7 separate regions of the Homo sapiens genome follow, and regions 1, 2, 3, 4, 5 and 6 are each linked to region 7. The links are contacts of gene promoters, found by promoter capture Hi-C in blood cells and fetal thymus (Javierre and others, 2016). All regions are on one chromosome and are shown on one strand. The core of a region is centred on a gene start or on the middle of the fragment in contact, and the rest is flanking DNA. Distances in the headings are between cores, read along the strand shown.

What was found. The method cuts DNA at HindIII sites, captures the fragments that hold promoters and counts their contacts. A CHiCAGO score of 5 or more calls a contact.
Region 1: a contact is called between a fragment that was not itself captured here and the fragment with the promoter of SPATA1 in region 7, in 6 of 17 cell types (erythroblasts, total CD8 T cells, monocytes and 3 more). The highest score is 7.5, in erythroblasts.
Region 2: a contact is called between a fragment that was not itself captured here and the fragment with the promoter of SPATA1 in region 7, in 1 of 17 cell types (erythroblasts). The highest score is 8.9, in erythroblasts.
Region 3: a fragment that was not itself captured here is called in contact with the fragment with the promoter of SPATA1 in region 7 in 1 of 17 cell types (naive B cells); the score reaches 5.5 in naive B cells.
Region 4: a contact is called between a fragment that was not itself captured here and the fragment with the promoter of SPATA1 in region 7, in 1 of 17 cell types (M2 macrophages). The highest score is 6.1, in M2 macrophages.
Region 5: a contact is called between a fragment that was not itself captured here and the fragment with the promoter of SPATA1 in region 7, in 6 of 17 cell types (M0 macrophages, M2 macrophages, M1 macrophages and 3 more). The highest score is 7.9, in M0 macrophages.
Region 6: a fragment that was not itself captured here is called in contact with the fragment with the promoter of SPATA1 in region 7 in 2 of 17 cell types (erythroblasts and M2 macrophages); the score reaches 5.5 in erythroblasts.

The regions. Positions count from the first base shown.
Region 1 is chr1:84,161,175-84,164,650 of GRCh38, reverse strand. The region is part of intron 1 of PRKACB (protein kinase cAMP-activated catalytic subunit beta); the gene reads right to left. Among named protein-coding and RNA genes, the nearest start is that of PRKACB, 19 kb to the right of the region's middle. The HindIII fragment of the contact is 3,718 bases long and covers 85-3,476 here.
Region 2 is chr1:84,101,182-84,104,689 of GRCh38, reverse strand. It overlaps a transcript of PRKACB not described here. Among named protein-coding and RNA genes, the nearest start is that of PRKACB, 41 kb to the left of the region's middle. The HindIII fragment of the contact is 3,291 bases long and covers 144-3,434 here.
Region 3 is chr1:84,080,963-84,084,663 of GRCh38, reverse strand. It overlaps a transcript of PRKACB not described here. Among named protein-coding and RNA genes, the nearest start is that of PRKACB, 61 kb to the left of the region's middle. The HindIII fragment of the contact is 3,580 bases long and covers 1-3,522 here.
Region 4 is chr1:84,912,371-84,916,412 of GRCh38, reverse strand. No RefSeq gene overlaps it. Among named protein-coding and RNA genes, the nearest start is that of LPAR3, 21 kb to the right of the region's middle. The HindIII fragment of the contact is 462 bases long and covers 2,313-2,774 here.
Region 5 is chr1:84,936,062-84,940,053 of GRCh38, reverse strand. MCOLN2 (mucolipin TRP cation channel 2) reads left to right here. Exons shown (of 14, transcript NM_153259.4): 9 at 352-501; 10 at 1,972-2,073; 11 at 2,177-2,299. Among named protein-coding and RNA genes, the nearest start is that of LPAR3, 45 kb to the right of the region's middle. The HindIII fragment of the contact is 2,900 bases long and covers 725-3,624 here.
Region 6 is chr1:84,119,852-84,123,358 of GRCh38, reverse strand. It overlaps a transcript of PRKACB not described here. Among named protein-coding and RNA genes, the nearest start is that of PRKACB, 23 kb to the left of the region's middle. RefSeq lists an enhancer at 295-444. The HindIII fragment of the contact is 5,287 bases long and covers 1-3,507 here.
Region 7 is chr1:84,504,333-84,508,101 of GRCh38, reverse strand. SPATA1 (spermatogenesis associated 1) reads right to left here and starts at 1,716. Exons shown (of 14, transcript NM_001397487.1): 1 at 1,684-1,716. It overlaps GNG5 (G protein subunit gamma 5), which reads left to right and starts at 1,521. Exons shown (of 4, transcript NM_005274.3): 1 at 1,521-1,666; 2 at 1,801-2,091. The coding sequence starts at 2,011. RefSeq lists silencers at 1,796-1,875, 2,126-2,255. The HindIII fragment of the contact is 7,618 bases long and covers 1-3,138 here.

The DNA of each region.
Region 1 (3,476 bases), core at 694-3,193, 340 kb after region 7:
TATATCAGCATGAGTTGTTACCACGGCAACATTAGACCAGAATTATCGGTTCACTTGTATCCAAGGCGTAGCTTTTCTAAAGCTTTAATCCACCAGACAAATAAAATACCTTTTTATTTTAGAGCCACATGATTATAAATTACCAGATTTCTTAAATTTAAGCACTAATCTACGCTTTTTACATCTTTCAAAGATATGAAAAAATTGCTGTTTTCTTCAAATACTCACACAATCCCATGTTGAACCTGGCAAGGAGCAAACAGCAGAATGATTGCACCTAAACGTCTTTCAATTACACCAGCTCTTACTGCTAGCTGTGGACCTCACTGATATTAAAATGCTGTGTGCTGTTGCTAGTGACTATTGGCGATGAATCTTATTGCCGAGATCGCTGATAGCTTTCATTTTTCATGAGCCAGAAAGCTATACTGCAGCACAAATGTTAACCATTTAAACATTCTGTGTTATGGAAGAGAATAATATTATATACATATATGTATATCTGCATTTTTAAAGGAGAATCATAGAATAACTTATTTGTAAACTTCCATTAAATTCAGCATTACAAACAGTGTCAGATGCCATCCATGTGGTATTCAAAAGAAAATAATACACAAAAAAGTTACTGGCAATTATTGCAGAAATGTAAAATTCCTCACATGAAACAGGACTAAGATGACAGATTGTATAGCAAGGTGGGCTGACTGGGTAGCATGGTGAACAGATTGTTTTGATTACCAGAGATCCAAAATTTGTACCAAAATGGTACAAAGAATCTATAGAATGGTTCCTTGTTAAGTAGAACTTCAGCACGTGAACTTGCCATTTTAACAGTTGCCATGTGAGGCAGGACTTTTGGTGATGTGGAAGTAAGTCAGGAAATCTTCCTAAGAAACAACTATGAAGCTGAACAGAATTATCAAAAACAATGATTTCATGGCTCTGGAAATCGAGCAGTCATAAACAACAAATTAAGAAACATTTATTTGTGACGAACCACTGAACTCTGCCTAAAAACAGTGGGAGTCAGAGATGTTCTTGCCTGGGGCTGCTCCCACTCCTTTATAGCTCAGTCAGGAGAGTACTTCTACCAGGGTAGGGCTGGTCATGAAAACTAGCAGCTTCACTTCTGGAAGGGGCTGACATGAGAGGGGGCTGATTTGATTTGAAGTGGAGGCCAAAAAACTCATTAGTGATATTGTCAACGAAAAAAGCAAGCTGAAAGAAATTAACAGTCTAAGGCTATGGCCTTGGTAGGGCTAAGCAACACATTGGTGGTATAGCAAGAAACATAGCATGGGGTAAATGAAGATGAGACAGACAGAGGCTACGTAAGTTCACCAGGCCACCCAGTCTGCCCACCTTGCTATGCAATCTGACTAGGAGGTAATGACAAGCACAAAGGACACGAAAGAGGGCCCAGTGGAAAGTTAAAGCTGGTACAGACTTCCGAACTGCCTAAATACTGCATGTGCTCCTCAATTTGCACACAGTTCCATCAGCACTGGCTGGTCCCAGTGTTTGAGTACAACCTCTGATCAATCATTAAATAACAATTAAGCTACAGAGACACAGGGCAATCCCTAGGAAACCAGGTTAAAAAATAAAAATTAGAATAAGAAGAAAAAACTAAGCAGAGAAATCAGTAGTCACATATCATGAGGGATACAGATTCCATAGATTAAGACAAAGGAAGTTTTTAATAAAAAAATAAACAAAACCAACCCTCAGGGAAAAAATAATCAAAACCCAGAGCTACTACCACATGTTATTTTAAAAAACACATTTTTGACAAAAACTTGTGTGATCCACAATGAGGAAAAAAAGCAGTCAATAAAAAATGTCCCTGAATGGGCCCAGGTGTAGAATTTAGCAGACAAAGGCTTTAAAGACTTTAAAATAGCTATTATACATATATGAAAATAATTAAAAGAAAATTGTGTTAAATACCTAAAGGAAAACACGACAGTAATGAACAACATATAGAAACTTTCAATATAGAAAGAAAAACTATTTAAAAATAAAAAGTGCAGATTTGAAAAGTATAATAACCAAAATTTTAAAACTCAGTATAGTAAGCCCAACAGCAGATTTAAAAGAGCAAAAGATCAAATCAGTGAACTGGAAGATAGATCAATGGAAATCATCCAGTCGGAAGAACACAGAAAAAGACAGGAGAAAAGTGGACAGAGCCTGAGAAACTTATGGGATATCAAGGGAACCAACATATATCTCATGGGAATTAGAAAAAAAGGAGAGAGACAAAGGGTGATGAAAAAACATTTGAAGGAATAATGGCTGAAAATGTCCCAATTTGATGGAAAACAGTAACCTATGGATCCAAGAAGCTCAGCCAATGCCAACTAGAATAAAACCCAAAAGATCCACACTGAGACATATCATAGTCAAATTGTTGAAAGGTAAGGAGAAAAGTCATGAAAGCAGCAAGAGAAAAATGATGAATCACGTCCAGGGGAAAAATATGATTAATGACTTCTCATTAGAAATAAGTAGGGCCAGAAGGCAGAGAAATGAAGTGCTAAAAGAAACAAGAAAGCAAACCCATCCACCAACATTTCTCTATCCAGGAAAATTATCCTCCAAAAATAAAGGTGAAATGAAAGATTCCCAGAGAAACAACGGAGGATATTTGTTGTAAGCAGAAATACCTAAGTCCTTAAAGCTGAGAGGAAATAATACTAGACAACAGCTCAAATTGACAGAAAGAAATGAAGAGCACTAAAAATGGTAAATATATAAATAAAAGGCTATATAAATACACATTTTTTCTGTTCTCTCTTAATTTCTTTAAGAGACTTAAAGTTGTATGAGGCAATAATTACAACATTATGTTGCTGGGTTTATAAAATATATAAATATATGTGAAAAAACACAAATTTGGAAAAGAAATGAAGCTATATTGGATCAAAGCAGTTCTATTCCACTAGAATTAAGTCAGTACTATCCTGAAGTAAACTATGATAAGATAAATTATAATCTTGTGTATTATAATCTCTAAAGAAATATTAAGAAAATGCCTTTTAAATTTTATTTTTAAAAATCAAAACCAAATAATTAAAACATACGTAATAGAAAAGAAGGTGGTAGAAAGGGAAAAGAGGAACAACAAAAACTATGAGACAGAAAACAGTAAAATGGAAGCTACAAATCCAACCATATCAATAGTGACATTAACTATGAATGGAAGAAACACAAATCAAAAGGCAGAAATTATCAGATTGGATAAAAATCAAGATCAAACTATATAACATCTATAAGAGACACATTTTAGATTCATAGATATAAATAGGCTAAAGTAAAAACAGGAAAACAAGATTCATCATGCAAACAGTAACCATAAGACAGCTGGAATGCCTATATCAATATTAGACAAAATAGACTTTAAGTCTAGAAAAATTATGAGACAAAAGGGACATTCATAATTATAAAAGGCCAATACATCTGAAAAATGTGAC
Region 2 (3,508 bases), core at 540-3,039, 400 kb after region 7:
TGCAAATGAAAGCCATCTCACCTCGGTTTGAATGACTATTGTTAAAAAGACAATAGTCTTTTTGGATGCAGAGAAAGGGAACTCTCATATACTTTTAGTGAGAATGTAAATTAGTACAGCCATTATGGAACAGTATGGAAGCTTCCTCAAAAAACTAAAAATAGAAGATATAATCCAGCAATCCCAATGCTGGCTATTAATGCAAACGGAAGGAAATCAGTATATTGAAGAGACATCTGCACCCCATGTTTATTGCAGCACTATTCACAATAATCAAGATATGGAATCAACCTAAACATCTATCAACAGATTAACAGAAAAAGAAAGTGTATATATATGTATATAAACAATGACCTACTATTTAGACATAACAAAGAATGAAATCCTGTTATTTGTGGCAACATGGATGAGCCTAGAGGATGTTATGTTAAGTGAAATCAGTCAGGTACAGAAAGAAAAATACCATATGTTCTCACCCATATGAGGGAGCTTTTAAAAGTGGAGCTCATACAAGTAGATAGGAGAATTGTGGTTATTAAAAGTTGGGAAGAGAATTAGATAATTGTGGGTTACTACAGATTAGAGAGAGGTTAACTGATAAAAAATCACAGCTAGATAGGAAAAGTAAGGTCTAGTGCTCCATAGCACTGTATGGTGACTATAATTTACAATAATTTACTGTACATTTTCAAGTACAAGAGAGGATTTAAATGTTCCTAACACAAAGAAATGATAAATGTTTATGGTAAGGAAATACTAATTACCCTGATTTGATCATTACACATTACATATGTATCAAAATATTACTCTGTATCCTATAAATATGTACAATTATTATGTGTCAACTAAAAATAAAAGGGAAGGGGAGAACACTAGTTCTTACTGGCTCTGTGAGGTTGGGCAGGTGATAGAATTTTTCTACTTGTGTTTCAGTTATCTGTGTTATGTAACAAACTTAGTTTTCAAACAATCACCATATTTTGCTCACAATTTTCTGGGTCAAGAATTTGGGCAACACACAGTAGGAACTGTTCATCTCTATACCACAATGTCTGGGGTCTAAGCTGGGTGGCTCAACAGCTGCGAGAAGCTGGAACAGCCCAAATGAGGTCATAGGTCTGCTGGCTCACTTCACACTGTTTGCTGAGTCACTCTCTCATCTGTCTTCAGCTGAAGGCTGGGCTGACTAAAAGGCCCATGAAATAATTCACCTTATCTAGTGCTACCAATCTCTCTCTTTCTTTCTCTACCCCCCACCCCCACACCCCATCTCTCTGTCTCTTTCTCTCTAAGTGGCTAGTTGGGCTTTGAACAGCATGTTGGTCTCAGAATAGTCAGACTTCTTGCATAGCAGTTCGCTTAAAAGAGGACAGAGCCTCAACCCTGTAACGGATCTAGCATCACATCCACCATATTATACTGGTTAAAGCAATGAGAAACCCAGCCCAGATTCAGTGGAATGAAGAAATATGCTATGCTTCTAGATGAAAAGGGTGGTTAAGAATTTGTAGCCATCTTCACTTTGTCACAGAATACTCCTCCATTTTCAAAATATACTTTACTCCTTCCAAGACCCCAAGAAGCCTTATCCTAAGGTCCAGGATGTAATCTAAATCAAATGCAGGTATAGATGAGGCCTCTCAGATCCAGTTTCCTGAGTGCAACTCCTCATACTTAGTTTCTCTTAATCTAAAGACTTGTGAACTAAAGAGACAAGTTATCTGCCCAATACACGATGGTGAGATAGGAATAGAAATTGCAATGGATACTCCCATTCAAAAAGAGGGAAAACAAGAGGTATAAACACTCCCTCATCAATAGCAATTCTAAAGTCCAGTTGGGCACATGTCACTCATTCCTTGATTAGTCCTGAGAGTAGTTCTCCTTGTCTCTTAGCTGTACTCTCTGGCTTCTTGGCTGCCCTCTCTCAATCATTCTTTCACATGAAATGGCCTATGTGAAGAGGTGAGTAGCTTTTCAGCCTGCTTCCTTTCCACAGTAGGTGAGGGCCCGTACACTTTTTTCCTTATTAATTATCTCTGACCCTTTCAATCAACATTAATACAATTTCTTTTAAAACTCTGTGGGTTTCTCATATTATCAAATTCTAATATATTCCAAGAGACAAAAAGCCACATCCACATTCCCTTTGGAGAGGGCTTTCTCTACCTTGGGCCTCACATAAGACTGCTATGGGACAAGTCCTTAAGATTTCTAAAAACCCCAACTGTCTAATTTAGAGTAACGTGAGCCACACACAAGATTCTCTTTTTGCATTTTTGTTTTCATTTTTTATTTTTTTTGAGATGGAGTCTCGCTCTGTCGCCTAGGCTGGAGTGCAGTGGCGCAATCTCGGTTGACTACAACCTCCGCCTCCCAGATTCAAGCGATTCTCCTACCTTAGCCTCCCAAGCAGCTGGGACTACAGGTGCCCAACACCACGCCCAGCTAATTTTTGTAGTTTTGTATTTTTTTTTTTTTTTAGTAGAGATGGGGTTTCACCACATTGGCCAGGCTGGTCTTGAACTCCTGACCTCGTGATCTGCCCACCTCGGCCTCCCAAAGTGCTGGGATTACAGGCACACACAAAATTTTTATAAGCCTTTCAGTCTAAATAAAGGTCTGTGAGACATCACTTTAAATTATCTGAGGTCATAGCAAAGGGTCTTACAGTATTTTTTAAAAGGTAGTTATTTTACTTGTTAAGAAAATTTTTAAGTCATGAGATAGTAATAAATAATTATCATAAAAATATAACTGCAGGCAGCTTTGAGGCCCTCCTTCTTGAACACAGGAATCTAGAGAATTCTCTAAATCTTTATTAAATAATAATTATCTCATTTATTATGTAAATCACTGCTCCCTGTATTTAGATAGATTAAATTCCTGTTACAATTTGGCACTAGGAAAGTGGCTTTATACTGTATCCTCACCATGTAGTGCTAAATTTTATGCTCAAATACAGTAACTAGCTTCAACATCGGTTTATTGGTTCAACCATCTTCTTGCCTTTGATTTCAAGGCTCTTGTATTTATAATTTTGCTTTAAAGGTTATATATGCCTTCTATTGAAAAACACCTGAAATCTTTTTTGGCTGTGGTAATGGGAGATGAGGAGGTGATAAGAATGAGTAATAAATGTAAGTTAAAAAGAAAGTAGGAAGTTCCATTTCTGGCTTGGGAAAATGAACCACCAACCCCCAAACCTGTCAGGGCTTAAGGAAAAAATATGCCTACAGGACATTTTTATGTGTCAACTTGGCTAGGGTATAGTCGTTAGTTATTCAACACTGATCTAGGTGTTGCTGTGAAGGTATTTTGTAGATGTGACTAAAGTCCACAGTCAGTTTACTTCAAGTAAAGGAGATTACCATAGATAATTTGGGTGGATCTGACTCAATCAGTTGAAAGCCCTTAAGAGCAGAACTGAAGCTTCCCAGAAGAAGAAACTCAGCCTGTAAAGTACAGCTTCAGCCTGTGATTGAGAGGTCCAGCTTGCCCTTCATTG
Region 3 (3,701 bases), core at 483-2,982, 420 kb after region 7:
CAATACATTCTGCTCAATTTTTCAAATTTCTCCCATTTCAGATCCTTTTCTCCATCCCAACCTCTACCACCTTGGTTCAGACCCTCAAAATCCCTCACCCAAATTATCATAGGAGTCTTATAATTGATCTTGCCTCTATTCCACTTGCTCCATAATGATTTATCTTCACATCACCACCAAAGTAACCTCTTTTAAACCCAAATTGTATCATGTTTCTCTCTTATTTCCAAGTGCACGATGGCTCCCTAGTGTCTAAAAGATAAAATTCAAACTCTCTCCATTATGTGGCCCTCTGTCCATTTCTTCAGTTTCATCTATCATTATACAATGTCCCCTCTTCCTATCACCAACCCCACATTCCATCATTTAATCATAATGGGCAACTTACTTCCTTATCCTGAATATGTTACATGGTTTCACTCCTCTGCATCTTCACTTATCAATGCTCGGTCTACTCAGAACACCCTTCCTCCTATAATCCATCTGATGAACATTTATCATTTTCAATGCTCAAGTCATGGTTCAACTCCTCTTTGAAGTCCTTTTTGAACCTCTTCCTCCCCATCCCAGTGGAAATGACCATTCTTTCCCTTGGTTCCCCAGCTGAACTTTAATGAAAGGATTTGTGGCAGGTTTCATGTGTTTGCTGACATGTCTATCTTCCCCCTTCTGGAATATGGGCACCCTGAGCAGGTACTCTGTCCTATTCAATCTTTATTCCCATAGTCTTGTGTAGAGTCTGTCACATTTTAGGAGCTCAATTATGTGTACTGAATAAAGGAATGAATGAAGCAATGAACAAAGAACTATACAGGACATTCTTGAAGGAATACATTTAAAAGTAAGATTAAATACCCAAAATGATAGTGACCTAAGCATATTTACCTTTCATAAATTTCACACTTTTCTATTTAACACAATGTTATTCACTAAGAATTTAGGATTTATTAATCTGAGGAAATTTGATCACCCACGTATACAAACATTTATCACCTAGATATAGAACTTCATAAGTTGTACTAATTTTTAAAAATTAATTTAATGGAATGTCAAAATGAATTATGGTCAACTATTAATTATCTGACAGGATCTTAATAGCTATCCTGGCTTATCTAGGACCTTCTCACGTGCTGCTTCTGTCACTCAGCCATGGCTTACTTTTCTAAGCTGGCTTTCATGCCTCTAATTATCCTGCTGCTGGCAATGAAAAAGCAACAATCTGTCTACAGCCTAAGTGAAGGACACTGAGGAGAATAAGAGGAGGAGAATAAGAAAAATGGTTCCTGAACATGAGATAATTTGATACAGTACACAATCTGCACAAACAGAATCACAGAATCATGGAACTCGATGAGATCATATGTATTTATCATCAAAATTGCATAACTGATTGCTTTGATTTTTTTGTCTTACACCCAAGAAAGACTTCCCCAGTACCTCTGCATTCTACAGAATTGGAACAAATATCTGCTACTGATTTTCCTTTGATAATTGAAAGGTGTAAAGACCTAAGTAAGGTATAAGAAATCACTATATTGCATTTAAATCTACAGAAATTTTTCAATAGAAGATATTCACTGAGATTACTAAAAATCACAAAATTTTATTTCTAGTACAGCCCCAAAAATAATTTAACTTTGTAGTTAATAAATTAAACACAAATTATTGAACTATAATAATTTGCTCACTAAGTTTATAAATGCTTATTCTGAGGAAATAAGTTAATTCTTAAATGAGAAAAAATAAATCCAGCATTCCGTTCATCTACACTCACTTGTAAGGATCCACAAATAACCAAGATGACAGAAAGATGGGTTGGCATTTCTATTAAATGCAAAAACAACTATGTTCTAAACCTGTGTTGTCCAATATACCAAACACTAATTAGCCACATGTAAGTTAAAGATTCAGTTTCTCAGTGGTACTAGTCACATTTCCAGTGCTCAACAGACATGTGGCTAGTAGCTACTACAGTGGACAGCATAGGTGGAGATCACTTCCATTATCACAGAATGTTTGACTGGACAGCGCTACTCTAATCATGGTGAAATGAGAATTTGCCAATACTTTTAAAATGGTAATACAAGTTCAAATAATAATTTTTTTTATCAACTATTGGGCAAGAAGGGAAAAGTATACATTTACAAATGGGAAAAAATAAATATAAGTACTGTAGTAATTAAGGCTTTAAGTACATAAAATTAGTTTTATGTGGTTTAATTTGAAATTCTACTATATTGAATCTGAAAAGATAATGATGATAAAAATCCAGAGAATGGTACAAGAAAAAAATAATCTTTTTCACTTAAGATTTTAATATACCAAATAAAGTCATGTTTGAAAACTGAAATGTGCTATAATTGTCTAAGCTATTCTGTGTGTCTTAGCATCGGCTATTCTATTGGATACAGAGGCTGTTCAGCAAAGTGGTTAGAATTTCAGGTTCTGAGGTTACAGTTGCCTCAACTTAAATGTTGCTTCTTGACTTACTAGCTATGCAACCTTAAGCAAGTCACTTAGGCTCTCTGAGCCTTCATTTCCTCATCCATAAATGAAGGAATAACTCAAGTGCTTTACAGTTTAAAAGAGTAAGTAAAAGTTTATACACGGAAAGCATTAGAGAACCTGGCACGTATTAGTCCTCAAAAAATGTTAGTTGTTAAGAAACTTGCATTTTTGTTGAACCTAGTCTACTGGTGGCTTTCTTTGATTAATTCCTACTGACTTTCAAATCCACAGGACAGAGAGATACTCTGGAAAACATTCAAAGATCATATGCGAACACTAGGTCACATGGTAACTTTACGACTTGCAGTCATGAAAGAATCTACATTCAAACCTCTACCAACACTTTTCACCCATGGGCCTCAACATTTTTGCAATGAATGTATAACACAAAGCCCCATAGGCAACCTGGAGGTATAGTATTTTTTTAAAATGAAATAAATAAAAACCCCTCCCAGGTTAAAAGAAGTAGCGTGTTTTTTTGGTGTGTTGGTGACTGGGGCTGGTGTAAAAGGAAGAGACTGGATAAGTAAAACAAACTTAACTGACAAGAGTTTAAAACTTCTCTGAGAATTTTATCATATTTCTAAAAGTTTATGTTTCTCTGTATTAGCTGACGTTTAAATAACTACGCCCAAATTTTAAAAGGAATATATCTTCAAGAGTAATTTTAAAAACACACACAGAGCAGTTAGGTATGTAATAGTACCAGTTATTCTTTCATTAAGTTTTGAGATACATCAATACAATTTCCTAATTCACTACAGCAGAACAACAGGTACCTAAGTTAATGTTATCTCCAAAACCTGTGGAGATGAAGATGGAATCTCACCTAGCTTTTAGGTCTTACCCCAGAAAATGTTAATTCTAATAGAGGGAAAAGGTTCAGTAGAGTACAATACAGGCACCAGATAGTTAAAGTTAACCAAGACCCTTCTAAATTATCTTTATGCCTAACTTCATTCTTCTGGAATATTTTTAGAAATAAGCTCTGGAATCACCTGCCTTTCTGAAGCTTGGTGCTAACTGAACCTGAAATCTTAACTGACTTGATATTTTTAATCAACTTTTCAAATCAAACATTTTCATACAGCAATTTTCAGAGTTCTAATTCCACTTTCCATAATGTTAGCACTTGTATTTTTGCCTTTCAGGTAACTCTTATATATACATATTTTCTTTCCCATTAGACAGTA
Region 4 (4,042 bases), core at 1,294-3,793, 410 kb before region 7:
ACTCTCGCCACCCTGCAGGCTTACTATGAAGCAGGACACCCATCTCCAGCCCTGAGGGGCACAAAAGGCAGACTGGCATAGACCCCGTAAGGTTCAGCTCTTGACAGTGTGCTCAGAGGGCTAAGCCACAGCCTTAAGGTGATCCACTCCAGCACAGTGACCCTGCACGACCAGTGAGGCACTATGAGGGGATATCAACATTGTCCAAAGTCATTTCTGAACAATGAGCCACAAAGTCCTGGTTTGATCTCTGGGGAAAATGCATTTCAACCTCAAGCCAGAATAACATAAAGACTGCTTCCTGTATCTTATCCCTTGACAGCCAAGTTTCTTGAACAGCTTTTAAGGAACCATAGTAACAGTTGGAGGAAGGGGTGAGTGGATCAGTGATGATCCTTCTACTAGACTTTTATCTCCCTTGCATAAATGGCCCCATGGTCCACCTGGAAAAGGTAAGTGTAAGGAGAAGAGATGGCAGAGGCAGATAGGGTTTTAACCTAGGTGATGGGCAGATAAGTTTGGAGGTGGGGAGTTAACAGGCAACGACATGACTCCACCCTCCTCCCACTTTTCTCCAGGATGAGGGAGGTTCTGACCTTTAGCCTTTACGCAAAATACTCTTGTCAAAGTTTCCACATTTATGTGATTGAGACAAGAGCCAACATTTATTATCCTACATTAAAACTGAAGCAACTAAATGGGATAAAACTCACAGATATATATTTCTTCCCCATTGGCCTTTTCAAAAATGGCAATCAATTTTCACAGCAGGCAGCTTAGAAGGTCAAGTTATTGGGACAAAAATGGGTAAAAGCCAACTGAAACAGTAACATCAACCAGTGTCATCCACATAACTATTCAGCACCTTATGACCATGTAGCCAAATAAATTCTGGATAGATTACAGATTTAAATGTGAAAAATTAAGCCTATAAAAGGACTAGGAAAAAATACAAATAAATATTGATGTGATTTCAGAAGTCAAGAAGGACTTTCTGAGTTTAAAGCTGCACAGGCTGGACATGGTGGCTCATGCCTGTAATCCCAGCACTTTGGGAGGCTGAGGCAGGTGGATCACCTGAGGTCAAGAGTTCGAGACCAGCCTGGCCAACATGGCGAAACCCTGTCTCTACTAAAAATACAAAAAAGTTAGCTGGGCATGATGGCGGGAGCCTATAATCCCAGATACTCGGGACGGTGAGGCAGGAGAATTGCATGAACCAGGGAGGCAGAGGTTGCAGTGAGCCGAGATCTCTCCACTGCACTCCAGCCTGGGGGATGGGGGAGACTCCATCTCCAAAAAAAAAAAAAAAAAAAAAGCTGCACAAAACCATAAAATAACCAAATATATTTTATTATATAAAAACAAAACATTTTAGAAAAGTAAGAACGTAAACACAATTTAAAAAGCACATTGAGAGGCTGGGTATAGTATTTCATGCCTGTAATCCTAGCACTTTGGGAGGCTGAGGCAGGAGGATCACTTGAACTCATGAGTTCGAGACCACCCTGGGCGAGATGGTGAGGCCCCTTCTCTACAAAAAATAAAATAGAAATTAGCCAGGCATTGTGGCCCACACCTGTAATCTCAGCTACTGAGAACTGTGACCGTGCCACTGAACTCCAGCCTGGGTGACAGGGTGAGATTTCGTCTCTTAAAATAAATACATACATACAACCAAAAAGCACACCAAGGAAAAAACCATTGCAGCATATATGGCTGGCTTAGTATGCTTACTGTATTACTAGGCCAAACACGGTGGCTCACGCCTGTAATCCCAGAGTTTGGGAGGCCGAGGCGGGCAGATCACGAGGTCAGGAGTTCGAGACCAGCCTGGCCAACATGGTGAAACCCCTTCTCTACTAAAAATATAACAATTAGCCGGGTGTGGTGGTGGACACCTGTAATCTCAGCTACTTGGGAGGCTGAGGCAGGAGAATTGCTTGAACCTGGGAGGTGGAGGTTGCAGTGAGCCGAGATCGTGCCACTGCACTCCAGCCTAGGTGACAGAGCAAGACTCTGTCTTGAAAAAAAGAAAAAAAGAAAGAACCGTTACTAATTCTTGGAGCCCCCTCCATAAGGACTGTTTTCTGTCTCTGTGTTTCATGTGCCTAGTAAAGTTCCTGGTGAATAGCAGGCTATCAACAAATAACATATTTTTAAAAAGCTATATTTGGTTGAATGCACACTATGTCCATCTATTGTTGCCACTCATCTCAGCAAACATACAGATTACATAACAGGATCTCCATTTTACCAAAAAGAAAATTGAACACAGAGTAAGTAGAGAACCTGGATTCAAATCCAAAGCTTCTGACTCCAAAGCCTTCTCCATTTTTCCCTTTCCGCTGCCTGCCTTCCAAATGAATGCTTATTGAATAGAATTGAATGGCAGAAAAAAATGTTTAGCCTACTTAATGAGAAATGTGACTTCTATTTTCAAACAACACCTTGTTAAGCAACATTCCTTGAACTCAAATAATGCTGGTGTTCAATGGAAAATAATTTTTACCTTGGTGGGGGAGTCGAAAGCCCCATAGAAGTTCCCAGCTCTAACACTAAATTGCTTAGTGATTTAGACAAGTTGTTAAGCTGCTCCAAGTCTCAGAATCCTTATCTGTAATACAGGGATAATAAAACTGAGAGTGCAGAAAGGTTACGTAATTTGTCCAAGGTTACACAGTAGTAACCGCCTGAGTGGGCAGCTTGTCTTTACAGCTGGGTAGTTCACAAGGCTGATGTAATATCTAGGAGTAAATGAACGTGAACAAGCTTTGAAAAGGATAAACTGGACACATTGGGTGAATGGAGAGAAAACTTAAAGTAATAAGCCTGTTTTTTGTGCAAGAATTATGAAAATTAGTTTGATATGAACATCTCAAATGTCTTGGTGTGTTCTTCTTGACCTACTATCTATTTTTAAATTTCTATAGCTGAAAATATACACTAGTAGCCGATTATCCCCTCCTTTCTGCCCCCTTTACAGTAAACCAGTGTGGCAGTATTGGTTAATGAATCCAAGTCAGCTTGCCCACAATTATAATCTTATCTAACTAGCTTTTTTAAAAAAAGATAATTGCATCCACTGGGGTGGAGTTTCTGGCATGTGCAATAATGAATCACCAAATCATGATTTTTAAAAGATAGTTACCTCATAAAATCTGGACTCAGCACCTCTTTCATTTCACTGGCTAGAAGCCAAGAGAGTCCGTGTTAATAATGTGTTTTAATACCACTCATGTACTTTTCATGCCTTGATGCAGTATTTGATCATTGGTGAAATCAGCAGTTGGACATGCATCTCAATTACTGTACCTTTCAGAAGATGCCCTTCATATTCTCTCTCTGATTTACAGAATTTATTTTACTAAACTATTCAAGAGAAGATTGCATATACTATTATGAAAGGGGTATAATACAAATATTATAAGGCATAAAGGGCATAAAAGTTGCATAAATATGCAACTTCAGTGCATATTTCCTAAGAACAAGAATAATCTCTTATGTAATCACAACACAGTGTTCAAATTCAGGAACTTTAATATTGATGCAATGCTTTCATCAAATCTGCAGTCCATAATCCAGCTCATCAATTGTCCCAACAATTCTCTTTATAGCATTCTTTCCCCTCTCACACAGGATCCAATCCAGGGTCACTGTTGAATTTAGTTGTCGCACCTCTTGTTTCCTTTAATCTGGAACAGTCCCTCAGCCTTTCTTTGTCTTTCATGACTGAGATTTTGGAAGAATACTGGTCATTATTTTACGGATAGCCCCTTAATCTGGATTGGTGTTTCCTCATTATTAGATTCAGGGTATGCATTTTCGGCAGGAATACCACAGAAGCAGTGTGGTGTCATATTATATCCAGAGATCCACGCATTGGTCTGCCTCTCATTAGTGACATTTATTTTCATCCCAGTCACGGTGTTGTCCGGCTTCTCCATTGCTGTGGTGGTTATAGAAATGCACCGCCCTGATCTCCTGTTGTGAGGAGCATAATTGATACGCTGTCCTGGCTGATGCACTCAGACTCCATCTG
Region 5 (3,992 bases), core at 925-3,424, 430 kb before region 7:
CCTTCTCTGGGTGATAGACCTGCTCGTACCTGCTTCATTGGGTTGTTATCGGAATGGATGTGTTGGTAATATGAAAAGTATTTGGAATGTACTGTGTGTTAGCTATGACAAGAACCTGCTGGAGTTACCGCGTACGTATTTCATATTTGAGGTAACTTCACAGACAATTGAATGCTTACTCAGATTATAGGGGAAAGTGTGTGCCGTAACCTCCACTTTCGAGGTGGATCTGGCAAATTGGAAAGGCAATGCCATGTCCTTTTACAGGTGAGAGCACTGTTTTGCACTTGCCTTCTTCTTCCAGAGGGCAGTGTGGTTTGTAAGAAACGCTTCTTTAAATGTTTGCCATAGAGATTTCTAAATTTCTTCCTGGAGAAGTACAAGCGGCCTGTGTGTGACACCGACCAGTGGGAGTTCATCAACGGCTGGTATGTCCTGGTGATTATCAGCGACCTAATGACAATCATTGGCTCCATATTAAAAATGGAAATCAAAGCAAAGGTGAGGGAAGCCCATTTAAAGTCTCTGTTCTTCATCTTCTCCTGGATGGCCACAGGCATCTTAAGACGTACCATCCTTTGGAGACCACTTTGATTCTCGTGTCTTCCCTTTTCTCACACCAGCACAAGTGAGGCCTCCCCTGGCTTGGTTCCTCGTGAAGGGAAAGGAAGCCGATGTTCCATGGAACGAAACTTGGCAACAGCTCCAGAATAGTGACTAAGCTTGAAAAGATTGGTTATTTGGGCCTCATTTTTCTTTTTAAGTTGCCAAAGGAGCAGCTTATCCATAAACCAGTCCCTTCCCTGAACCTGCATGTCAAGAGCTTGTGGGGAGGATCTGTGACCATTGGGTGCTCCGACGGATGGGGTGAGGGCAGGAATGTCAGACTGCCCGCTAAAGCCTGACCCTTTGTATAACTTAGTTGATTTGATCTCCTAACTAAGCCTCAACTCCTCCTTCACCGCACTATTCTCCCGTCCATTCTCTGCTGTTGGTCAGAGGTCCCTCCAGCCACACCTCCTAACCCTGACATGCCTAATTCTCTCCCATCCCGGCTCCCTCTGGCTTTCTTCAGGCTTCTTCCTTTCTGGCCAACTGTGACAGCAGCCTCCTCACCAGCTTTCCCGTCTTCTACTTCATACCCCTGAGATCCATTCACACAGCTGTCAGAGGGACTTTTCTGGAAGTGTCTATCCAGCTGTTACCATCCTTTCTACCTCTTGGGGCCTACTTTGGGATGAAGTGGCCTCCCTCAGCAGCATGGCCCCTGGGGTCATCATCATCCAGCTCTGCCTCTTGCTCCTGCCCCTGCTCTGACCCTGCCCCTCTAGGACGTCTTGTCAGCATTGTGCCTTTGTTCAGCTTTTGTCCACTTACCTGTGGTGCTTCCTCCCAGCCTGTCCTGCAGGCCTGTCTTTGCTCTGGGGTCGTGTCTGTGGTGTCCCTCTGTGATGAGCTAGGCATTGTGTCTTTCACTGCATTTAGCGTATTATATGAGAATCATGTTTGTGTGTTTGTCTTTTCAACTAGCCCTAGAATTTCCTCAGAGCTGCAGCTGTGTTAGGAAATCATGCTGGAGTTTTCTTTCAAAAGCAGCTGAATTGTATTGTTTGGTACTTAACAAACACCATTAATTTGTATCCTCGAATGCCTAGGTCAGTGATAAATGCAATTTCTATTTGAGAGTATTATTTGGAAAAAAATTTAGTTCAACCTAAATACAATTTCTATTTCAGAGTATTATTTGGAAAAAAATTTAGTTCAACCAATTGAAATACTAAAAGAAAATGAGAAACACAAATATTTGGAATTATATCTGTTTTTCTTCTTTTTTTTCTTCAAAAAAAAACTCTATCACCTATAGGGAGGCAGATAGTTCTTTTTTTATTAATTGGTTTAATGTAAGGCTAATAAGCTAAGTGGAGTCAAATATTTTACTCATTTCTCTCTTTCTTTTTTTTCATTCCTTAGAATCTCACAAACTATGATCTCTGCAGCATTTTTCTTGGAACCTCTACGCTCTTGGTTTGGGTTGGAGTCATCAGATACCTGGGTTATTTCCAGGCATATAATGTAAGGATGCGGCACCGGGTAGTGCCACTGCAGTTGAGACTCATTTATTCTTTGGGTTCTAATAGCTACTTTTTCATTTCACCCATTCTGTTCTTTTTTTCAGGTGCTGATTTTAACAATGCAGGCCTCACTGCCAAAAGTTCTTCGGTTTTGTGCTTGTGCTGGTATGATTTATCTGGGTTACACATTCTGTGGCTGGATTGTCTTAGGACCATACCATGACAAGGTGTGTAGCTCACATTCTTCCTTCTGCAGATGGGGCACGTGGGACCCTTGAACGTGGGTTTCTAGCACTTACTTGCTTCCTGGTCTTCTCTAGCATGTACCCTTGACATCAGTAATCACATATCTTTGTATCAGTTTTCTTTTTCTTTTTTTCCTTTTCAGGATATAGAAGTGACTACAGGATATTGAAACAAGAACTGTACAATACTAGAAAGCATGTATTATAGTTGTCTGGGACTGGCTTAAGGGGTCACATGGTTACCCGGTGATCATCAAATGGGAAATGTTTGGACGTGAGATCACTATATTAAAAATGAAAATTAAGTGAGGAAAATTATTATAAAAAATTTCCAATTTAAAGTATTATGTTTTTCATCCAAGTTAATTGAGAAGAATGAAGATGGGCAGAGACTGCCTAAAACGACCATAGTAGGTTTACGATAGAAATGGTGACACGTCTTGTCTCTGCAGACGGTTTTGATTACAGCATCATCTTTCTGCCTTATTAAAGATCAGTATCTGAATTCTAAACTATTACCAAACTTCAGTTAGCATTATAATCTCAGGGACATCAAAGTTGTGCTAAGATGTTCTTGTTATAAAATGATACATTTGATTGGTAGATGCATCAGGAAATGAAACTAGGTAAGCCTTGGTTTTAACCCAAAAAAGTAAAAGGAGTTATTTTATCTTATGGCTTTTCCTCCATTTGGGCCTGTGGCAGTTGGAACAACAGAAACAACAAAAATAGCAGCAGCTAACACTTACTGCTTGTGTGTTAGACACTCTGCTGGGCATTTCGGTGTTCTTTCTTATTTACTCCCCACAACAACCCAGGGTACTGTTAGCCTCACTTAGGTGCTCTGCAAGGAGAAAAGAGGTTAAAAATGGTAAGTATTCCTTCCAAGTTTGTATACCAGTTCAGCCTTAAGTTTTGACCTTGTTAGTTGCATTAACCAAATCTGTGATCAAATCTGGTTTACAAACTGTTATACATGAATCTTAAACCTCCGTGCTGTCCTACCAGAATAATGTCGAGTAACCTGGAACACTCAGACTTTCTTCTTTTTAGGTGTCACATTTAATATGTCTAGAGAGAATTACTGTTTTTCCTATTTGAGATATTATATAATTAACAAAGTGACAACCTCTGGGTTGGTAGTAAATCTTGATAATATTGCTCTTCATACTCCATGTCACTGCTTTAAAGGTGACTCATGAGAAAAAATTATTCTTTGATATGATCTCTCTGATTTGGAGAACTTACTGTCTTAGAGCCTGGAAAAATGTATTTTTCTTCCTTGCTTGCCTCATGCTCTGAAAGCTTTTCCACCTCTTTGTCACTAGAGGGCAGTGTTGCACTGTGTGGAATAAATACCGTTCCTGAGGATTCGGCTTTAATTCACTGACTCCAAGGTCTGTGGACAAGTGGTCCCATCTCCTTTGCACCCCATCCCCGTCTCCCCTACCTCATCATTATTCTGGAAGGTGCTCAGATAAGATTGCTAGAATTTTACTAGATGGCTACCATTCTCAAGTGCTGTCTGTTAGGCATGGTGCCCAAGATTCTTCATCTCCCTTGCTGTGTTAACCCTTCCCTCCCCTTCTCTGTGAAGAAATCTGATTGTCCTGTTACAGAGAATAGGCACCTTAATATATTAAATAATATTCCTGAGATTACCCAGCTAGAAAGT
Region 6 (3,507 bases), core at 866-3,365, 390 kb after region 7:
TATATCACTCTCCAAGTAACTTTCTTATGATGATTCTGATAAATAGCTTACCATGTTGATACAGTTTTAATTATCAAGTAATATCTGAAGAAACTTTAGTATTGCAGAAAAGTCAAAATTAACTACAACTCCATACCCTGGGAGAAACAATCTCATACATCACTATGTGGTATTCTATTCCAATAAATTCTAACACATTTTAGAACTATGAAATAAAGGTGAGCCTGAGGCACTAGAACTACATTATTGCTTAAACTGACCCTGTTTTAAATCACCCAGGCCCCAAATATATGGTCTGCTGCCAACCATGGCAGAACGGTTAGATGACACTTACCTCACAATATTATAAGCTACGGAGTCAGCCAGAAGGTGGCAGAATGGGGCCATTTAGGCTTCACATACATACCAGAAAAATCTTTTATTGTCATTACCTTAAATTTTAGCAATATAAGATAAACACAAGTTTAGGTTATTATACAAATAAAAGTGTAATGTACCAGAAATATGCAATAACATTATTTTATTTATACAAATCAAACTATAAAATTCTCACATAAACTACCATATCAGAAACTAATATCCATTTTCCCTCTCATAAATCTATTTATACAACCCATGAAAAAATTAAGTCTTCCAAAGATCCCCCATATAATTCCAAAACGTCCTTTTAATTCACTAACAATTTAATGGAAAAATACTAGTAAACGTCACATTACATTTAATTTGGTAAGTTCAATCATAATTACTATATAATGGCAAGGTAAAATCTTTTATAAAATCTCATATAACTTTTAAGAAAACAGTTGTTCTTATATTGAGCTGGTTTAATGCAATTTAGACACTATGACTTAATATATGGCAGATTAGCCATATGATTCTTCTATTACATTTGACTGTTTACAATGGATCTGTTTATCTCTGCATTCCTGGTACCTATCACAGGACTTAGAACACATAAACCCTCAACTGAGAAACATTTGCTCAATTGAGTATAAGATTTCAAAGAGAAAACTGAAGGCCAAAAGCAATTAAGCAGACAGCTAAAACACCAATTTGTCTTAACATGGTTATTTTTATTTTTCTATCAGGTGACCAGCCTTCCCAAATGAAAAATAAAACCACCCACAGAAACTAGATTTTAAAGCCAGATCTGCCAACATTAGCCAATTTACATCAGAGGGAGAGGCTGAAGAGTGCTGGAGAGAATTGTTTTGGAGCAGTTATGAGGTATGCAACACATTCAGGGCAGGAGGTCACCCTTACCTCAAATCAACTGAGGGGCTTCAAGGAAACCACTCAGAGACTTAACATGTACCCTATCTGCTAGGATTTATAAGAGTTAGGGACTGTTTTGGGGGGACTCACCAAATGTACAAAATGTAAAGGTACTAAATGGTAGATAAAACCACCTCTGCTCAGTGGCAGAGTGAAAAGAATTATGTTGAGAGGGGGCTCAACTTGGAATAGCAGGGAAAATACATTTATGTCCTATAGACCCCAGAAAAGAGAGTGTGTGCAAGGGAATCATAAATTGCCAGCCAGAGGAGAGGGCTTCTCTCACAAAGAGAACTGAAATCTGAGGGCCACAGCAGGTTTACTGTGAAGCTAACAGAGATTAAATTTCAGGACCTCTCAAGTGCAGGCAACCCTTCTAATACCCTGGGAGAGATTCTAGCATTGTGTTCACAAGGACACATGCTTTTGTAAGACTTGCAAAAGTAAGATATTTTAATAGCAATTGGTTGAGATTGCTGTCTCTTTTCTCTCCAACTTCCCCTTCTTCACACTTTCCATTATGTCAGGTGCTAATGGAGTGGCACCAGGCATTTTAGAGATCTGAATAAGGGAAAGTTTAGGGGTAATGTACAGTTTTAGCTACGATTGGCAAGAAGTTTGGGGATTTTTCAATTAAAAAGTTAAAAATGACAGACTTGTGATTTGAATGTGTACATATATATGTATATGAATATATATGTATAATACATGAATGTATATGAGGAGTACCTCCTTTTTCATCTTCAAATTTATGTATTAAAAAAACAAGATAAATTTAGAAGAAACATAATGAAATATGAAAGAGATTATAAAGAGGAGACATAAAATCAATAAAAATGTTCCTATATAGAAAAGTGAATTCAAGTTATTTTTTGTAACAAATACACTAAATCATGAAAAAAGGAAAAATTCCAAATAAAAATAATGAATAGGCATGTTGTTTCATAATGTAATTAATCAAGAGAATATGAACATGTTAGAAAAGATGTTTAAGTCTCTTGGCAATTGACACAAAATAGTAACAATAACAAAGATACATAAAACTCGTGATAGCTAGTACAAGAACATTAAAGACAAACTATTAGTGATTATTGTTACTTCAAAAATTACCTAAGATCAAGATTTGAAAAGTCTTGAAATCTTGTAGCTCATACACAAAAGAAACTTCTCAGGGACCATTACCTGGTGTTTCTTCAACCATAAAAAACAAGTATCTGGGAACCAGAAGGTGGAGGTGGGAGTGGTAGATATCACCACCCTATTTCACTGAATCTATGACTATCAATTATAAAAATCACCATTATATCATGTACCACTAAGAAAAAAAAGAAAAATGTACAGCAATTAAACTATGAGATACTTTGTCAGTTATAAATTTTTTCCCTATTAAGAGAGAACTATTTTTGATTTATTTAGACATAACTTTTTAATATCACTCTTGTAAACATATGAAGTGAAAAAAATTTTAAACTTGTTAAGAAATTCCTAAAATGCTTTCATATTCATAGTCTGACTCTTCCAGACTATTTTTTGATGCACAGTCATTATTGTGTGTTTTTACACAATTATTGTTCTTTATATCAAAAATATTGATACAGTATTTTTTGAGGCGCTCTACTACCATCTCCTATATTTTCTTCCAACCTGCTGATACGCATTTTCATGTTTGTGCATGTATAGACAATAACAAGCACATCACAAGAATTGCCTGACTGATGTCATCATTTTAGGAAGCATCCTAATTTCGAATACACTAAAATGTGAGACAAAAGTATGTATGTCAAAATTAATGAACTATAGTATGATAAGTTACCCATTTGAAAATTTTCTACTTCTTGTCTCTGTAACTTTGGACTCTTTAACAGTTGAGACATTTTAATACCCTTGGAAGTACTCTTCAAGAAATATGAATTTAGAAGTACTCTTCAAGTATGGGGAGTACCTGTAACAATTAATCCCTTGAACCAGAAGTTTAGAGTGCCAGCTGGGCATTCTGGTCACATTTCACTGAAAAATACAGGCCGAAAAGGAAAGTTACTTCTGTTTGAGTGATTAATCCTGGTTATTACTGAGACATAAAGTTGTGTTATAGATGGAGGTGGGGTACTTTCTTGTAATTTGCATATTGAGTATAAAAACAGAGAAGACTTCAGTATTCCAATATAGGAAACACTACCAAGGTCTCAATGATTCAAGAATGATGGTCTAAACTACTACCCTGAAAAAGAATCC
Region 7 (3,769 bases), core at 467-2,966:
CCCCACGTTGGCCAGGATGGTCTCGATCTCTTGACCTCGTGATCTGCTCGCCTCAGCCTGCTAAAGTGCTGGGATTACAGGCGTGAGCCACCATACCAGGCCTCAATGTTTTATTTTTCTTTTGTATCCTAAATAGAATCTTTAAACACACGCTACAAAAAAATAACACCTGGTGTTTGAGACAGCACTCCAGTCTGTGGTTTCCCAATGCAGCAGTTAATAAAAAAGCAACAATTTTTTTTTTTTCTGAAACTGTTTCGGCCTAAAACACTGCTTATTCCTCAACAGTCTCCCTCACAGAAGTAATTATTGGACCATATATTCCCTAAAATCTCTTCCAGCATTAACATACCACGGTTCTAAGAGTTCAGTGATATATTTTACAACTACTGTAAAACAGATCATTCTTTGAATAGATACTTGTGTTTAATCTTACAAATCTGTAAAGTATGAATGACGTTTTAGCATTATACAGTCAACAAAGCACCAAAGGTGAAATAATTACAATACCTTTTGGGAAAAGACAATATTTATTGAGATAGCTTTCACATTCTTTTTACATATAATGTCATTTCATTCCGAAAAACAACTCTACGAAGCTGTATAATTTACTTTGAAATAAGGAAATAAAGCCTCAGTAACTTAAGTGGCTTGCCCAAGAATACCGTAAGTAGCAGAGCCAGAATTCAAACCCTGGTTTTAACCCCAATCATTACATCCGTATGAATTAAGTAAAATGCTAAACTTACGATGTACATTTTTGCGAACTGATATAAACTGTTGAGTAAATAAATTAGATTTTGTTGACCAGTGCAATTACACATGCTTCCCTAATAAAAAATTTGAAATCCATTAATGATAAAATTATTAACATTAATGGAAAACATCAGCGCATTCGGAGATTGACTACCCGAAAAGAAATAGGAAACATCTGCCCTTAGTGCTGTGACATAACACACATATTTCCGTGGATGAAAGAAAGACCTACTGGCTGAGCCTATTTTGTTTGGTTAGACCCTACCCTCTCTCCTAAAAACTCCTTTGGTACTCAATTTCAAGCAGGAGGTAATAAATTACAACGGAAATACTAAAGAGCAAACTTTCCGGAAACACAAAAATAAGTTTTATTTTAAAAAGTACAATAAGCATTAATTCTCCAGAGTAAATGGGTAACCGAGCAGACAGGTGTAATCTTCAGCCAGCACCTTGGCTTCTTCACAATCTCCTTCAGAAAAACCGATTCAAGAGCTAAGAAGCCAGTAAAGTCAAACCTCGAGAAGATCCCTTCTCCAGCGAATCAGCGCCCCTGCTCCCCGCCCGCCCGGCTCCGCTGGGTACGCGACAGCGACCTCCGCGCCTGCTCTCCGCCTCGGGTCAGCGGGGCTGGGGGTTGGGGGTGGAACTGAAAATGCCTGTTGGCCAAACTCGGGTCACAGAGAGACACGCCTGTACGGGGCGGGGGTGTGCGGGTGACTCACGCCGGGTGCACAGTAGCTCCTACGCCTCACCCAGTATCTCCCCTCACTTCCCTCAACCCTTCCCACAAACTGGGAGGAAAACTGAGACCTCCTGGTCACCCGCCGCCGGGCCTTTTAGAAACTCCCACAAGCTCTGCCTTCCCTCCCTGGTCCTCTTCAGACCCCCTCTTAGTTCTTCGCGGCTAACGGTAAGCTCTCTCCTTACCTCTCCCTAATCGGCCCCTCTGGAGAGGAAAAGAAAACTTAAGAGTCGGGTCGCGCTAGCCTCCAGCAGCCGCCGCGCCCACCGACTGCTCCGCCCCTTCTCCTCCCCCTCCTCCAGGCTCGCGCTCGGGGCCGGGTGTGGAGCTGGAACAGAGGGCTGGCAAGGCGCGCATGCGCACCGAGGGTGGAGCCGCTGAGCACAGAACCGGAAACTTAGAGACAAAGTTCGGAGCCCCGCCCCCGCCGCGCGCCGCTGAGTTGTCTGGCCCCGCCGACCCACGGCCCACGACCCACCGACCCACGAATCGGCCCGGCCGTCGCGTGCACCATGTCTGGCTCCTCCAGCGTCGCCGCTATGAAGAAAGTGGTTCAACAGCTCCGGCTGGAGGCCGGACTCAACCGCGTAAAAGTGAGCGGGGGCGGGCGGCCGAGGCGGGAGGAAGGCGGCGGCGGCGGGTGGGATCCGGCGGCCCAGCTGGCGGGGGCGGGCGGGACACGCGCCGGCCCTCGCTTCCCCTGGAGAGGACGCGCGCTCAGCGGCGGCGATCGGGGAGCGGCCAGCTTTAGAGCAGGCGCCGCGTGGGTCTACGCTGTGTTTTAGGGGGACGATTAGTTCGCCCTTCCGCCCCAGGACTTTCCGAGGCGGGCTGGCCCCTGGGTTGAACCGTGGCCGACATTCCGGTCCTCCTCCGTCTCTACCTCCCTTGGCAGCCTTCTCGGCTGGTCTCACCAACAGCTGCGCCTCCGCGCGCTGTCCGCACCCTTCCTTTCCCACTTTGCCAGCCTCCTGTTTCTCATCGGACAGGGTATTTTCCGACTTTTGATTCAGAGCAGACTTTTCTCCCATTTGATCTTTCCCAAACCTACTTCCTTTAGTATTAAATTCTTACCTTCAACTTCTCTTGTCCGTTGAACACATACTTTTAAGCGAATTATTGCATAACTTAAACTGTGGATTGAATAAGCATTTTTCGAAACGATCCTGGAGTGTAAAGTTCCGGTCAGTGCCCCGTACAACCTCGAACAAAGCGTGCATTTCATACCTATGGCACAGTTTGCTCATATTTGACCTTGGGGATATCGACTGGTCCGCATGCCGGAGAAAATGATTATTGTGGGTAATTATTGGTCTTATTTTGGCGTCTGGTTAGTATTGGCCTTGTCTTGGGGTACTTTGGGAGAAAAAGCCTTTTGTCTGTGTTGATAGAATAACTTGACATTCAAGTGCTGTTCTAAGTATTTCCTGATTTTTACAGTCCTAAATGGATTGGCTTCTTTCTGGTACAATAGGTCAGGCTACATGTGAAACACTTCTGCAGTTAAAAAAAGAAACAAGAATGTAAATCATGTGCCCTGTTAAAAGCAGCCAGTTCCTAAGATGATTTGATTTTATACTCATCAGGCTAGTCTTTATTACTTGCCGAAATGTTTTGTGAACTGAGAGGGTCTCTAAGCTTTCTTAACTAGAAGTGTCAGAGACCTAGCTTACTCAGTTGTGGTCACCTCAGAAGGGAAGGGAAATTCTCATTCGTCTTGGTGCAGGATCCTCCTGAGAGAGAGTCTCCCATTTAGTTTTGTTAACTAGAAATGTCAGGGACCTAGCTTACTCAGTTGTGGTCAACTCAGAAGGGAAGGGAATTCTCATTCGTCTTGGTGTGGGATCCCCCTCACGTCCAGTCCTTGAAATGCTGTAGACCTCACTGCAGTTTGGAATCCATTTCTCTACTCTCCCAATTCTTACCTCATCACAGTGGTTTCTAGTCAGTCTTGGCTGGATTTGGCTCTGAAACTCGAAATCATTTATTTCGTAACCATTAAATGTCATTCAGGTGTGCCTTTATCATAGATAGGATGGACCAAGAAAAAAAAATGGGGGTGGGATAGTGAAAGCAATAAATTGTACATCTTTAGTCTCCAAAGAAAATGACATGAGGTTCTCAGGCTAAAATACTCCAAGAGCTTTACTTTGAAAACCCTAGCTGCTGCTCCCCTAATTCCCCAAAACTGATCCTACCTAAATCTTCAGTAGACTTCTGGTTCTGGTCGGGATCATTAAAGGCACCAGACATGATTTGGTTTTGGAGTTA